2 separate regions of the Homo sapiens genome follow, and region 1 is linked to region 2. Evidence: promoter capture Hi-C in 16 types of primary human blood cells and fetal thymus (Javierre and others, 2016). All regions are on one chromosome and are shown on one strand. The core of a region is centred on a gene start or on the middle of the fragment in contact, and the rest is flanking DNA. Distances in the headings are between cores, read along the strand shown.

The links. Contacts are between HindIII fragments. The CHiCAGO score rates a contact against its expected background, and 5 or more counts as called.
Region 1: the fragment with the promoter of RARA here is called in contact with a fragment that was not itself captured in region 2 in 2 of 17 cell types (M0 macrophages and M1 macrophages); the score reaches 8.4 in M0 macrophages.

Annotation. Positions count from the first base shown.
Region 1 is chr17:40,304,929-40,310,993 of GRCh38, forward strand. It overlaps RARA (retinoic acid receptor alpha), which reads left to right and starts at 4,252. Exons shown (of 9, transcript NM_000964.4): 1 at 4,252-4,358. RefSeq lists enhancers at 3,679-4,564, 3,944-4,113, 4,124-4,253, 4,565-5,448. The HindIII fragment of the contact is 5,393 bases long and covers 1-5,052 here.
Region 2 is chr17:41,681,046-41,687,115 of GRCh38, forward strand. No RefSeq gene overlaps it. Among named protein-coding and RNA genes, the nearest start is that of EIF1, 4.8 kb to the right of the region's middle. RefSeq lists a silencer at 974-1,053. The HindIII fragment of the contact is 6,365 bases long and covers 1,255-6,070 here.

The DNA of each region.
Region 1 (6,065 bases), core at 3,002-5,501, 1.4 Mb before region 2:
AACCTGGGAGGCAGAGGTTGCAGTGAGCCGAGATCGTGCCATTGCACTCCAGCTTGGGCAGCAGAATGAGACTGTCTCAAAAAGGAAAAAAAAAAATGCTGGGTGTGATGGCTCATGCCTGTAATCCCAGCACTTTGTGGGGCCAAGGCGGGCTGATCACTTAAGGGTCAGGAGTGCAAGACCAGTCTGGCCAACATGGCGAAACCCTGTCTCTACTAAAAGTACAAAAATTCACTGGGTGCCATGGTACACACCTATAATCACAGCTACTTGGGAGGCTGAGACAGGAGAATTGCTTGAGCCTGGGAGGTGGAGGTTGCAGTGAGATGAGATCATGCCACTGTACTCCAGCCTGGGTGACAGAGTGAGACTCTGTCTCAAAAAAAAAAAAAAAATGTGTGAGGTCTAAGCTACCCAGAGATCAAAAAGTTGGCAGAGCCTTATTCTCTCTGCGCCCCCTCTTTTGCATTGCTCCCTACCTTTACTAAGTGTCCCTTTGAATATACATCAAGCCAGGTGTGGTGGCTCATGCCTGTAATGCCAACACTTTGGGAGGAGGCAGCAGCGGGAGGATTACTTGAAGTCAGGAGCTTGAGACCAGCTTGGGCAATATAGTGAGACCCCCTTACCCTTCTCTACCAAAAAAATCTTAAAAATCAGCTGGGCATGGTGGCATGCACCTGTAGTCCTAGCTACTTGGGAAGCTGAGATGGGAGGATGCTTTGAGCCCAGGAGTTCAACTCGGCATGGGCTATGATCACACCACTGCATTACATCCTGGGTGACAGAGCGAGACCCTGTCTCTATAAAAGACAGAAAGCAGATACACCAATAAGAATGAGAAGTTGGGAATAAGATGTGATTTAGGTTTTATATATATATTATATACATATTATATATATTTTATATATATAATGTATATTATATATAATATACATATTATATATTATATACATATTATTTATATATATATATATATATATTTTTTTTTTAGATGGTGTCTTGCTCTGTCACCCAGGCTGGAGCAGTGGCGCGATCTCTGTTCACTGCAAGCTCCGCCTCCCGGGTTCACACCATTCTCCTGCCTCATCCTGAGTAGCTGGGATTACAGGCACCCGCCACCATGCCCGGCTAATTTTTTTGTATTTTTAGTAAAGATGGGGTTTCACTGTGTTAGCCAGGATGATCTCGATCTCTTGACCTCGTGATCCGCCCGCCTCGGCCTCCCAAAGTGCTGGGATTAGAGGCTTGAGCCACCATGCCTGGCCGGTTATATATTTTTTAAATATCTTGAGACGTGTTACCTTGACTGCTGAGGGAGGACAAAAGAGATCCAAGATTGAAATTTTATTTACATTTGTATCTGTGCCTAGCAATTAGTATAGTGCCTAATACCTGGTAGGTACTCAATAGTTGTTTAACAGATAAGTGAACCAAATAAGATACTGCCTTTCCCTCAGTGGTGAGAACAGTTCTAAGCTGAAGGTAAACGTTGGTGGTACTTTTGCACAGAGGTGGAGCAGGCCCCTGCATAAGAAGGGTGCTCTGTCTTACAAAATGTGTCTTGGCACAGTTTTGGAGCATTTATTAGCCTCACAGATGCATTCCAATCACTCCCTCTGATGTAGTGGCATTTTGCTTGAGGCAACTTCCATGTTGCTGGTGGGACGCTTTGGCTATGAGGGGAAGAGTCTTATCTACAGGCTGTGAAGAGGGCTGCCTGTCTGGATGTCACTCAGTGTGGCTAGATTGGCCAGAAGCTGGGTCTGTAGGCAAGGGTTTAGGGAGGAGCCCACCTTTGATGTCCCTCTTTTTAACTTGGGGCAAGTTGTGATCTCAGGTTCTTCCTGAAAAGATAAGGTACTTTCTAAGATACCTTCTCTTAAGCTACAAACAGTGCAGGTCTTCCTCTTAGAAGAGGTGTGTTCCGTAAGGGGAGAAGGTGTGCCCTCTGGCCTCCCCTTGATTTTCAACCCCAGCCCCAAGGCACTGGTAGTGGAAGTTAATTGGGTGCAAGGGGCTTGGGTAAAGGCTGAAGACTGGTGAAAGGAGAGAGCCAGCTTCGTTTTTTAAAAAGCTCTAATTGAGTTCTGAATCAGCCTCACTCCCTTTGATCCCTCCTCTGTTTCCCACACTGCCTGAAAGAGCTAGATCAGCACTTTATAACAAGGGTGCGCCTGCTCCCCGCACCGCCCCCCGCTCCTGACGCTCTCTGCTGCCGCCATCCACTGCTTGTCTCCTTCAGTTAAGATAATGAAGATGCTGAGAGATAAAATGTGTATTTAATAAGGGTGGGGGTAGGGAGGCGGAAAGGGGCAACCAGGGCCTTCCCTAGTTTGGGGCCTCGCCAAGACTTAAGCTGAAAGCAAAGCTAGAGTAAGACTTGGCCCCAGGGTGTGGGGGTTTCTGGGCCTCAATCCAGCTGACTTCACTGCCTGCTGTTTGCCCTAAATTCCCCCACCTCCACCCTCTCACCCCCACACTGCTTTCTTCTTGCTCCCAATGGGAAAAAGGACTCTTGCTTCAACTTTCTTTTCAGCTGGTAACTTGGCCTTTGGTGCGGTGCCCCCCACCCCAGTGTCAGCTGCAAGGTCGGGCTAGGGCAGCCCCCTCTAGCCTAGGCCTGTAGAAGCTGTGGGTTCACAGTGGGGGGTGAAAAAGCTGGAGTTAATGAAGACCAGCTGCTAGTCTGGGTTCTGCCTACAGCTAGCTGGAGGCCAGCCTTTGGTGGTGGTTGATGGGGGGGTGGGGTGACCTCCATCCATGGGCACAAGGATATCCTGTGGCAGCTAGGCTTGTGCTTCTCTCTGAGCTTAGTTTTATCCTTAGTTTATAAGAGAGTATCTGTTTCCTTCCCCTACTCCTCTCCTCCCCAAATAACACTCAGCTCTTATTGAACTTTATAACTGTAGTGGTGGCCCAGCTGAGATCTGAGGATCTCCAAACCCTTTTGTAAACACTCATTAACTGCCTGGGAAGAACGAAGAGCCCTGTTTAACAGCTGGGAGAGAACTGAGGCACATTAGGGTGAAAGGTTTGACCTAAACTCACCCCATGGACTCCACCCTGGGGCCTTCCATCCTTAGTCCAGCTCCTTTACTCAGTTCTTCCTGCAAGACAGAGGTGGAGGCATTGCTGGTGTCTTCTCCCCTTCTAGGGAGAGGCCATGCCCTCTCCCCTCAAGTCTGTCGCTGACTTCCTCTGGCCCTTCCCCTCATGACGTTTTCCCTGCTCTGCTGCTAGAGATATGTGCAACTCTCCTTGCAAAATGTTCTCAATCCACAACTTCAGAATTCTTATCCAGCTTTCTCTTGCCCATCTAGCCCACCAAACCTGAATTCTCCCTTTTGAGCTACTGAGAAGACTGGCTATACTAAACTGAATCAGTGACCTTGAAGTTGATCTGTTGTATTGAGGTCCCTCTGCCCCTATATTTATCCTAAATGGTATCTAGGAAAATATTCTCTCTTTAACTTGTTTATTCTGGTCATAAAGATTCGGGACATTACTGAGGGCTGGGTAGGGGCACTAGTTGACCTCTAGGTTCTACGTCCTGTTCTTCCACTGACAATTACCATTTCCAGTAATAGGTGTAACCCAAAGTTCTTTTTTGTTTTTTTCTCCTTCCCTAACCCCACCTGTTTATACTCTTGCCTATATATGTGTATTTGCAGACCCCACACATTCCCAGATACACATACATTGGTCCTACATGTTTCCCCTGTTTCCAGCTGCCATCTAAGTGAGCCTGCACTTTTTACATGCTGAAAATCTTTTTTCACCCTCTATGGCCTCCTAGGTCCTTGGGAATAATTGGGAGGGATGAAGGGACTCCTGCAGTCCATGAGGAAGAGGACAGAAGTGAGCGCCCAACCAAAATGAATGCTCCCTTTCCAAAATCTCTAGCTGAATGCCTTAGCAGGAGTGGCAGGGAAAGAGATCTTAACCCCACCTCCAGCACCAAAACCTAAATCCATCTGCTCAGGGCAGGCAGGAAGAAATGTCTATTTTCTCCTGTTTCAGGTCATCCTATCCTCGAGTTATCCATATGCTGTGTATTTGAGACAGGGAACTGTTCCTGTCCCCAGCCGATGACCAGACGCCCATCTTTCTTCCAGTGGGTTACTTCTCCCCCATCAGTCCTTCGCTCTGCGCCCGCTGACCCAGTCGGGGCTGGCTGGTGGAAGAGGGCGGGGAGAGCCTTCTAGTTGGCGAGTGGGCTTTAGGACCCAACGGGAACCCGTGCCTCTTGCAGCAGCCTAACCCAGAAGCAGGGGGGAATCCTGAATCGAGCTGAGAGGGCTTCCCCGGTTCTCCTGGGAACCCCATCGGCCCCCTGCCAGCACACACCTGAGCAGGTAGGACCATGCACACCCCTTCCCAATTCTTTGGCCGCCTTTGACCCCGGCCTCTGCTTCTGATCTAGCCATTTCCTTCTCGCCAGTTCTGGCTTTCCCCATCCCTCCTCTCCCGTCGCTCACTGTAGTCCTGGGAGGTGGGAGCCTGGGAACAGTGGGGTGTCTGAAAGCTCAGAGCCCTCTGCACCCTCCAGCACCCTTCCTGCATTTCTCCTGAGGCAGTTCCCGTTCTCTAGATAAGAGTGGGGAGTAGGGGGAAGGTCTGCCCAGGCCCCACGCCCTTGCACCCTCCTTTGCGGTATTGCCTAATACCCCTTCCCCCACCTCACCTAGACTGGAGAATTGGCAAGTGCTGAGGTAACAGAGAGAGGAGAGAGCCAGAGAGGGACCTGAGCTTTCCCAAGGGATTTCTTTCTTGCTTCCTCACCCAAAGAGCTCAGGACTTTGCCCCTACTCCCTACACACCTTGTAGGGGAACTAATGTCCCCTTCCAGGTTCATCTCACACTTGGGTGGCTAAAGGCTTTGCTAGAGGGTAGTGGAGGTTGTGAGCATTTTGGTGAGCTTTTCCTCTAGGAAAGTTCTTTCAGCTTAGAGCCCCCATCCATGTCAACATTTCAACACCTGCTGCAGAAGCCCCCCGACCCCACCTGTGTGTGTGTGTGTGTAGGGACAATGTGGTTGTAAGATCTAGAAGCTTTGGATAGAGGTGGCTGCATGCATTGAAGGGGAGGGATACCAGAGTGTGGCCCAGGCCAGAACAGGCTCAGTCCAGATGGCTAGGGAAGGGGGTGTGGACCAGATTGAGGAGGTCACCCAGCCTTGCCAGCTCCCTGAGCTTCTTGGCTTTCAGAATCTCAGGCTCCTGGTGTTTCTCTAGAGCTACAAGGTCCCCAAGCTTCTGCCCCGCTACAGGCTCTCTGGGAGAGGGCTAGATGGCACCTACTGTTTACAGTGGCTTATTTTTCTCTCCTGTGGTGGGCAGACAGGCCCTGCTCTCTGAAGATCTAGGGCGTGTCATTCTGGTTTGGTGGGTTTACAGGAAGGGTGTACACCTTGTCTGACTTACCATGTGTGAGTGTGTGTCTTGCTTCTGGGGGTAGTAGACTGGGGAGGGGGGTGATAGAAGAGACTGGTCACACTGAGGGAACTCCTCTAGCAATCAATGTATGATAGGAATGGGTGGCATGTCCCCATCTGGTAGCTCTGTCTAGGTGTGGGGTGTGCTCTGCATTCTTCCATGGCTCCCCGGGTCCCCTAAAGGTTGGTTTTAGAGGACAGGGTGGATAATGAATTGGCTTCAGACTTCGTTCTGGTCTTGATCCAACAAGGAAAGTAGAGATTCTGACTGTGAGCAGTGAACTAGGAATCAGAGGCCTGAACTGGAGACTTAGACTGGTTACTTAACTATATGTGTTTATATAGGTCTTCCCCTTTGCTAAGCCTTAGTTTCTCCATTTGTAAAAATGGCTATCAGTAGCAAGCAGGGACATTGCCACTAAAACCACAGAGACAATGTATCGTAAAGCTCACTGCAAACGGTAGTAATGGCTGGGGGAATCTAGGATGGAATCCTCTTCCTAAATCTAGGTCAATCTCTCCGCCTTTAGTTTTCTTCCCCCATCCTTTGCCCATCTGGGGGATGGAGGAACTAGGCAGGGCTATTGCCCCGGTTACTGCAGAATTCCCCTAATGCAGGTTGTAGCTG
Region 2 (6,070 bases), core at 3,187-5,686:
TTTAACTTAATAGTATATTTTATTTAATATAATAGATCCAAAATATTCTTATTTTAATAAGTAATTCATATAAAAAGTATTGTGAAGGCTGGGCACAGTGGCTCACACCTATAATCCCAACAATTTGGGAGGCTGAGGCACGCGAATGGCTTGAGCAGAGGAGTTTGAGACCAGCCTGGCCAACATGCTGAAACCCCATTTCTACAAAAACATACAAAAATTAGCCGGGCTAATTCGGTAATGTGCGCCTGTGATCTCAGCTACTCAGGAGGCTGAGGCAGCAGAATCGCTTGAACCCAGGAGGCAGGGTTGCAGTGAGCTGAGATTGCGCCATTGTACTCCAGCCTGGGCGGCAGAGCAAGACTCCATCTCAAAAACAAACAACAACCCGGGTGCGGTGGCTCACACCTGTAATCCCAGCACTTTGGGAGGCCAAGGCGGGCAGATCACGAGGTCAGAAGTTCGATACCAGCCAGGCCAACATGGTGAAACGCCGTCTCTACTAAAAATACAAAAATTAGGCGAGCGTGGTGGTACACACCTGTAATCCTAGCTACTTGGGAGGCTGAGGCAGGAGAATCACTTGAACCCGGGAGGCGGAGGCCACAGTGAGCCGAGATCGCACCATTGCACTCCAGCCTGGGCAACAAGAACAAAACTCTGACTCAAAATAAATTAATCAATTAATATAACATAATATAAAGCATTGTGAGACTTTACAGTTTTTTTTCATGCTCATTCTTCAGAGCCCTGTGTGTTTTTACACTTACAGTGCATCCTCATTCAGACTGGCCCCATTTCCAGGGTTCAGAAGCCACAGGTGGCTTGTGGCTGCTGTGGCCCTTTGAGAGTTAGAATTAATTTGGGGAAGATGGGTGGGTGCAGAAGAGAGGGGAGGCTGCCCAGAGAGGCACCTCCAGGTGACATGTGCTTGGGGCCAGAGCTGCACACTGGGGACAGCTGAGTGTTGGGGGGTGTGCAGAGGTGTGGCTGAAAGGGGATGAGCAGTGTGTCCCAACTGGTGAGGGTTGTCACCACACGGCACCAGCCCTCTCTGCGTTTCCTCCTGTCCTCTCACAGTGAAAGTGAAGGACTTGATGAGTCTTGCTGCTCGATTACTGCTGGATGAACTCTTGGAGACAGCCCTTATATGAGTTACACTAGTTTAAAAAATGAAATGAAATGAAATGAAAGGAGGGCTAGAGGACCTATGCCTAGGTCCAAGGCAGACTGCTCCACCCAAACACACCTGTAAGCTTGTCCCAGGAAAGTGGCCAGATCTGAACTGATTGCCATCAAACATGTCTAATGCTCTTCCCTCCATCTGGAACATCCACCTGCCCTCAGCTAGAGAACACCTCCTTCAGTGCCCGGTCAGAATATAGAACCCCTCTGTGCACCTGTGTCTGGCACCTCCTCCACGCTTCCTGGGCCCCTGGTTCCTTGGAGTGCTGTCTGAACCCTCGCTAGGCTGTGATCTCCTTGAGGCCCAATGCCAGGCCTGGCCTTCTCCACCTCCCTAGGCTGCACTTTGTATCCTCTCCCACCCACCTCGGCAGTTGAGTCCGCAGTTGGGCCACCTGGATGGCCCTGCCCGGGGAAGAGGAACCAAGGGCTCTGGTCTTTATCTCCCTTCCTAAATGAAGTTTCCCCCCATCTATAGGAGCTCCTGCAGGACTCCCTGAAAAAGGAGGAAAGAGAGGAGGGGAAGGAGTGGGAAGCAGGATGGGGAAGACAGATGCTCTGCCAGCAAAGAGGCAAAGAGGAACTGAGCCAAGTCCCCACCGTGGGTTGGCATAAGTGGGTCCCTGGCAAGGGGAGGGAAAGTAAGAACAAGAAGAAAGGCTGGCCGGGTTGGGAGGTGGCGGTAAAATATAACCGCCATACACACACAACACACACTAGCCATAAGGGTACAGCTCAATAGATTTTTGCCACCTGGATCAAGAGGAAGGTCATTTCCAGCACCCCATAAGGTTCCCCCATGTCAGGCCGGGCGTGGCGCAGTGGCTCACGCCTGTAATCCCAACACTTTGGGAGGCCAAGGCAGGCAGATCACTTGAGGTCAGGAGTTCGAGACCAGCCTGACCAACATGGTGAAACCCCATCTCTACTAAAAATACAAAAATTTGCAAGGCGTGGTGGTGGGTGCCTGTAATGCCAGCTACTTGGGAGGCTGAAGCGGGAGGATCACTTGAACCCGGAAGGCGGATGTTCCAGTGAGCCAAGATCGCACCACTACACTCCAGCCTGGGAGACAGAGTGAGATATCATCTCAAAAAAGAAAAAAAAAAAAGTTTCCCCCATGTCCCTTCCCAGCATCTACCCTAGGCAGGTTTGAAGAATTGATGTATTGCCAGCAGAACCCCAGCTGATGCCCGACCTGCACATCTCATCATTACCCTGTGCAGGCTGCAGATCAAGCTGCAACAGGCCCGGGTCTCCCTCCTTCTCCAAGTGGTAAGAACAGCAGCCTTCATTCACTGGGACCTTCTATGTGCATGGGAGCGGGGGAGGGGGAACTATTCTAGTCACTTACATACGTGGGTCGTTAAGTCCCAAATAAGGAATGCAAGAAATGTGGCATTAATTGGACTTTCTTTAAATCAAGTGAGATCCTTGCCAATTAACATCCCACTGGGCTGCTCAGAAATCCAGCCTTGGAAATGACAGGGGCTCCAGCCCTCCCCAGGATTCTCTCTCGCTCACAAGGTTTTCTAGAGCACCAGAGCTACAAGGAGCCCCTAGACCAGATCATCTATCTGCCTTGGTTACCATGGAGATGTCTATTTTCCCAGAGGGTGCAATCCCTTCCTGGAGGGAGATTCTGCTGCTTCCGTGCCACGTTGGTGGCCTTGGAGAATCTTATTGAGGTCGAGGGTCCCAAGGTGTCCTACACAGCCATGCCCTTGTCACATCCCAAGGAGATCACCATGGAGAGGTGCCCACCTCTGTCCCATCCTCATTCAGAGGGGCTCACTCCTGTCCCCTGCTGCTCTCGGAGGCTCTCTCTCTCCCTTCCCCTCTGGGAAACTGGTATAATCTATATAGTGGTTTCATAACTTTACATTTTTATCCGGCTGTACATAGTCTCCTCTTTAAATCCCCTCAACAGCCTATGAGAAGGGCATTATTGTCTCTGTCGTACAGAGGAGAAAATGCAGGCTGGGAGGGGCTAAGTCGCCCAGGCAACAAGATGGAGATGATATTCAGATACAGACACTCCAGAGCCTGTGCTTTGTACCCTGCCCTTGGCTGCCCAGGTGACAGCATCTCAAAGCCAGGAGCACACTAATAAAGAAGCCAGCATTAACAGCAGGCATGCATGCCACTTTCAAACTAATTACTCCTGCCTCCATGATTACTCCTCAGGCTCCTGGGGCTGGGGTAACCTCCCACACTGGAAGGTAGACTTCGGAAGACCCTTCTGGAAATGCTCCCAACTTGGGAAAACAGCGCTTCAGACTTCAGACCCAGGAAGAGATCACCCAGTGCTCCTTTTATGGGGCATACAACTGAAGCCAAGAGGTAAACCAGGTCACCCACAAAGCTGGTGGCAAGTCAAGAACTGAGTCTCAGGCCTGGTGCGGTGGCTCATGCTTGTAATCCCAGCACTTTGGGAGGCCGAGGTAAAGGATTACTTGAGCCTAGCAGTTCAAGACCAGCCTGGGCAACATAGTGAGACCTCATCTCTACCAAAAATTTAAAAAATTAGCTGGCTATGGTAGCACATGCCTGTAGTCCCAGCTACTCAGGAGGCTGAAACGGATCACTTGAGCCTAGGAGTTCAAGTCTGCAATAAGCTATAATGGCACCATTGCACTCCAGCCTAAGTGACAAAGCCAGACCCTGTCTCAAAAAAAAAAAAAAAAAAAGAACTGAGTCTTGGCCGGGTGTTGTGGCTCACACCTGTAATCCCAGCACTTTGGGAGGCCAAGGCGGGCGGATCATTTGAGGTCAGGAGTTCAAGACCAGCCTGGGCAATGTTGTAAAACCCCTTCTCTACCCAAAATACAAAAATTAGCTGGGCATGGTGGCACCTGCCCGTAATCTCAGTTACTTGGGAGGCTGAGGCAGAAGCATAGCTTGAACTCAGGAGGTGAAAGCTGTGGTGAGCCAAGATCGCACCACTTCACTACAGCCTGGACGACAAAGCGAGATTCTGTCTCAAAAAATATTTTAGTGTGACAAAATATTGCATGCACACTGGGAAGGACAGCTCCAATTCATTCATTCAAACTCTCTCCCAAAACCCTTTCCAGCAGAACAATGTCCGTCAGGGCAAAGTGTTGTGGGATGTCAGGGACTCCCAACAGAGGGACCCGCTGAAGCCATGGCAGAAGAACATAAATTGTGAAGATTTAATGGATATTTATTAGTTCCCCAAATTAATACTTTTATAATTTCTTACGCCTGTCTTTACTGCAATCTCTGAACATAAATTGTGAAGATTTCATGGACACTTATCACTTCCCCAATCAATACCCTTGGGATTTCCTATGCCTGTCTTTACTTTAATCTCTTAATCCTGTCATCATAAGCTGAGGAGGATGTATGTAGCCTCAGGACCGTGATGATTGCATTAACTGCACAAATTGTTTGTAGAGCTTGTGTGTTTGAACAATATGAAATCTGGGCACCTTGAAAAAAGAACAGGATAACAGCAATGTTCAGGGAACAAAGGAGATAACTTTAAACTCTGACTGCCCGTGAGCCGGGCAGAACAGAGCCATATTTCTCTTCTTTCAAAAGCAAATGGGAGAAATATCGCTGAATTCTTTTTCTCAGCAAGGAACATCCCTGAGAAAGAGGATGCGTCCCTGAGGGAGGCCTCTGAAATGGCCACTTTGGGGACAGCTGTCTTTTACGGTCATCGCTGAGGGATGAAATAAGCCCCGGTCTCCTGTAGCGCTCCCAGGCTTATTAGGACGAGGAAATTCCCGCCTAATAAATTTTGGTCAGACCGGTTGTCTGTTCTCAAACCCTGTCTCCTGATAAGATATCATCAATGACAATGTGTGTCTGAAACTTCATTAGCAATTTTAATTTCGCCCCGGTCCTGTGGTCCTGTGGTCTTGCCCTGCCTCCATTTGCCTTGTGATATCTTATTACCTTGTGAAGCACATGATCTCTGTGACCCACACCCTATTCGTACACTCCCTCCCCTTTTGAAAATCACTAATAAAAACTCGCTGGTTTTGCGGCTTGGGGGACATCATGGAACCTGCCGACATGTGATGTCTCCCCCGGACACCCAGCTTTAAAATTTCTCTCTTTTGTACTCTGTCCCTTTATTTCTCGGACCAGCCAACACTTAAGGAAAATAGAGAAGAACCTACGTGAAATGTCGGGGGTGAATTTTGCCTGATAGTAAAGGTTCCCAAGTTGGCTGACTGGGGCCTTAGCTTCTCAAAAGGGGAAGACCATGAGACTGGGATGCCCATGACCTAGCCATGGTTCCTCCTTCCTGATGTCAAGGAAACCAAACTATTAATCAAGTTTATTTAGTAAATATAGAATCAAAACAAAGTATCAGGCCAGGCACACTGGCTCCTGCCTGTAATCCCAGCACTTTAGGAGGCCAAGGCAGGGGGACTGCTTTAAGCAGTTGAGGCTGCAGTAAGCCATGATCATGCCACTGCATTCCAGCCAGTCTGGGTGACAGAGTGAGACCTTGTCTATATATATATATATATACACATACATATATATATACATATATACACAAATACACACACACACATATATACACACACTCATATACATATATATATATATACACACACATACACATATATATATCAGGTACACCTAGCATTTCCTCCCTCAGAGTTTTTCTGAGTTTTCTGGTGGGCACATGCCCTGCCCCACAGTGGACTCCTTCCTACCCTCTGTCAGCCAGAATGCTGCCTCCCCAGAGGCCTTCTCTGACCACCCCATCTGAAGGAGCCTGGCCCTTTCACATCACCCTGTTTACCTCCTTTTTGGCACCTCTCACAATCTGTCATTATCCTTTTTTTTTTTTTTTTGAGACATAGTCTTGCTCTGTCGCCCAGGCTGGAGTGCAATG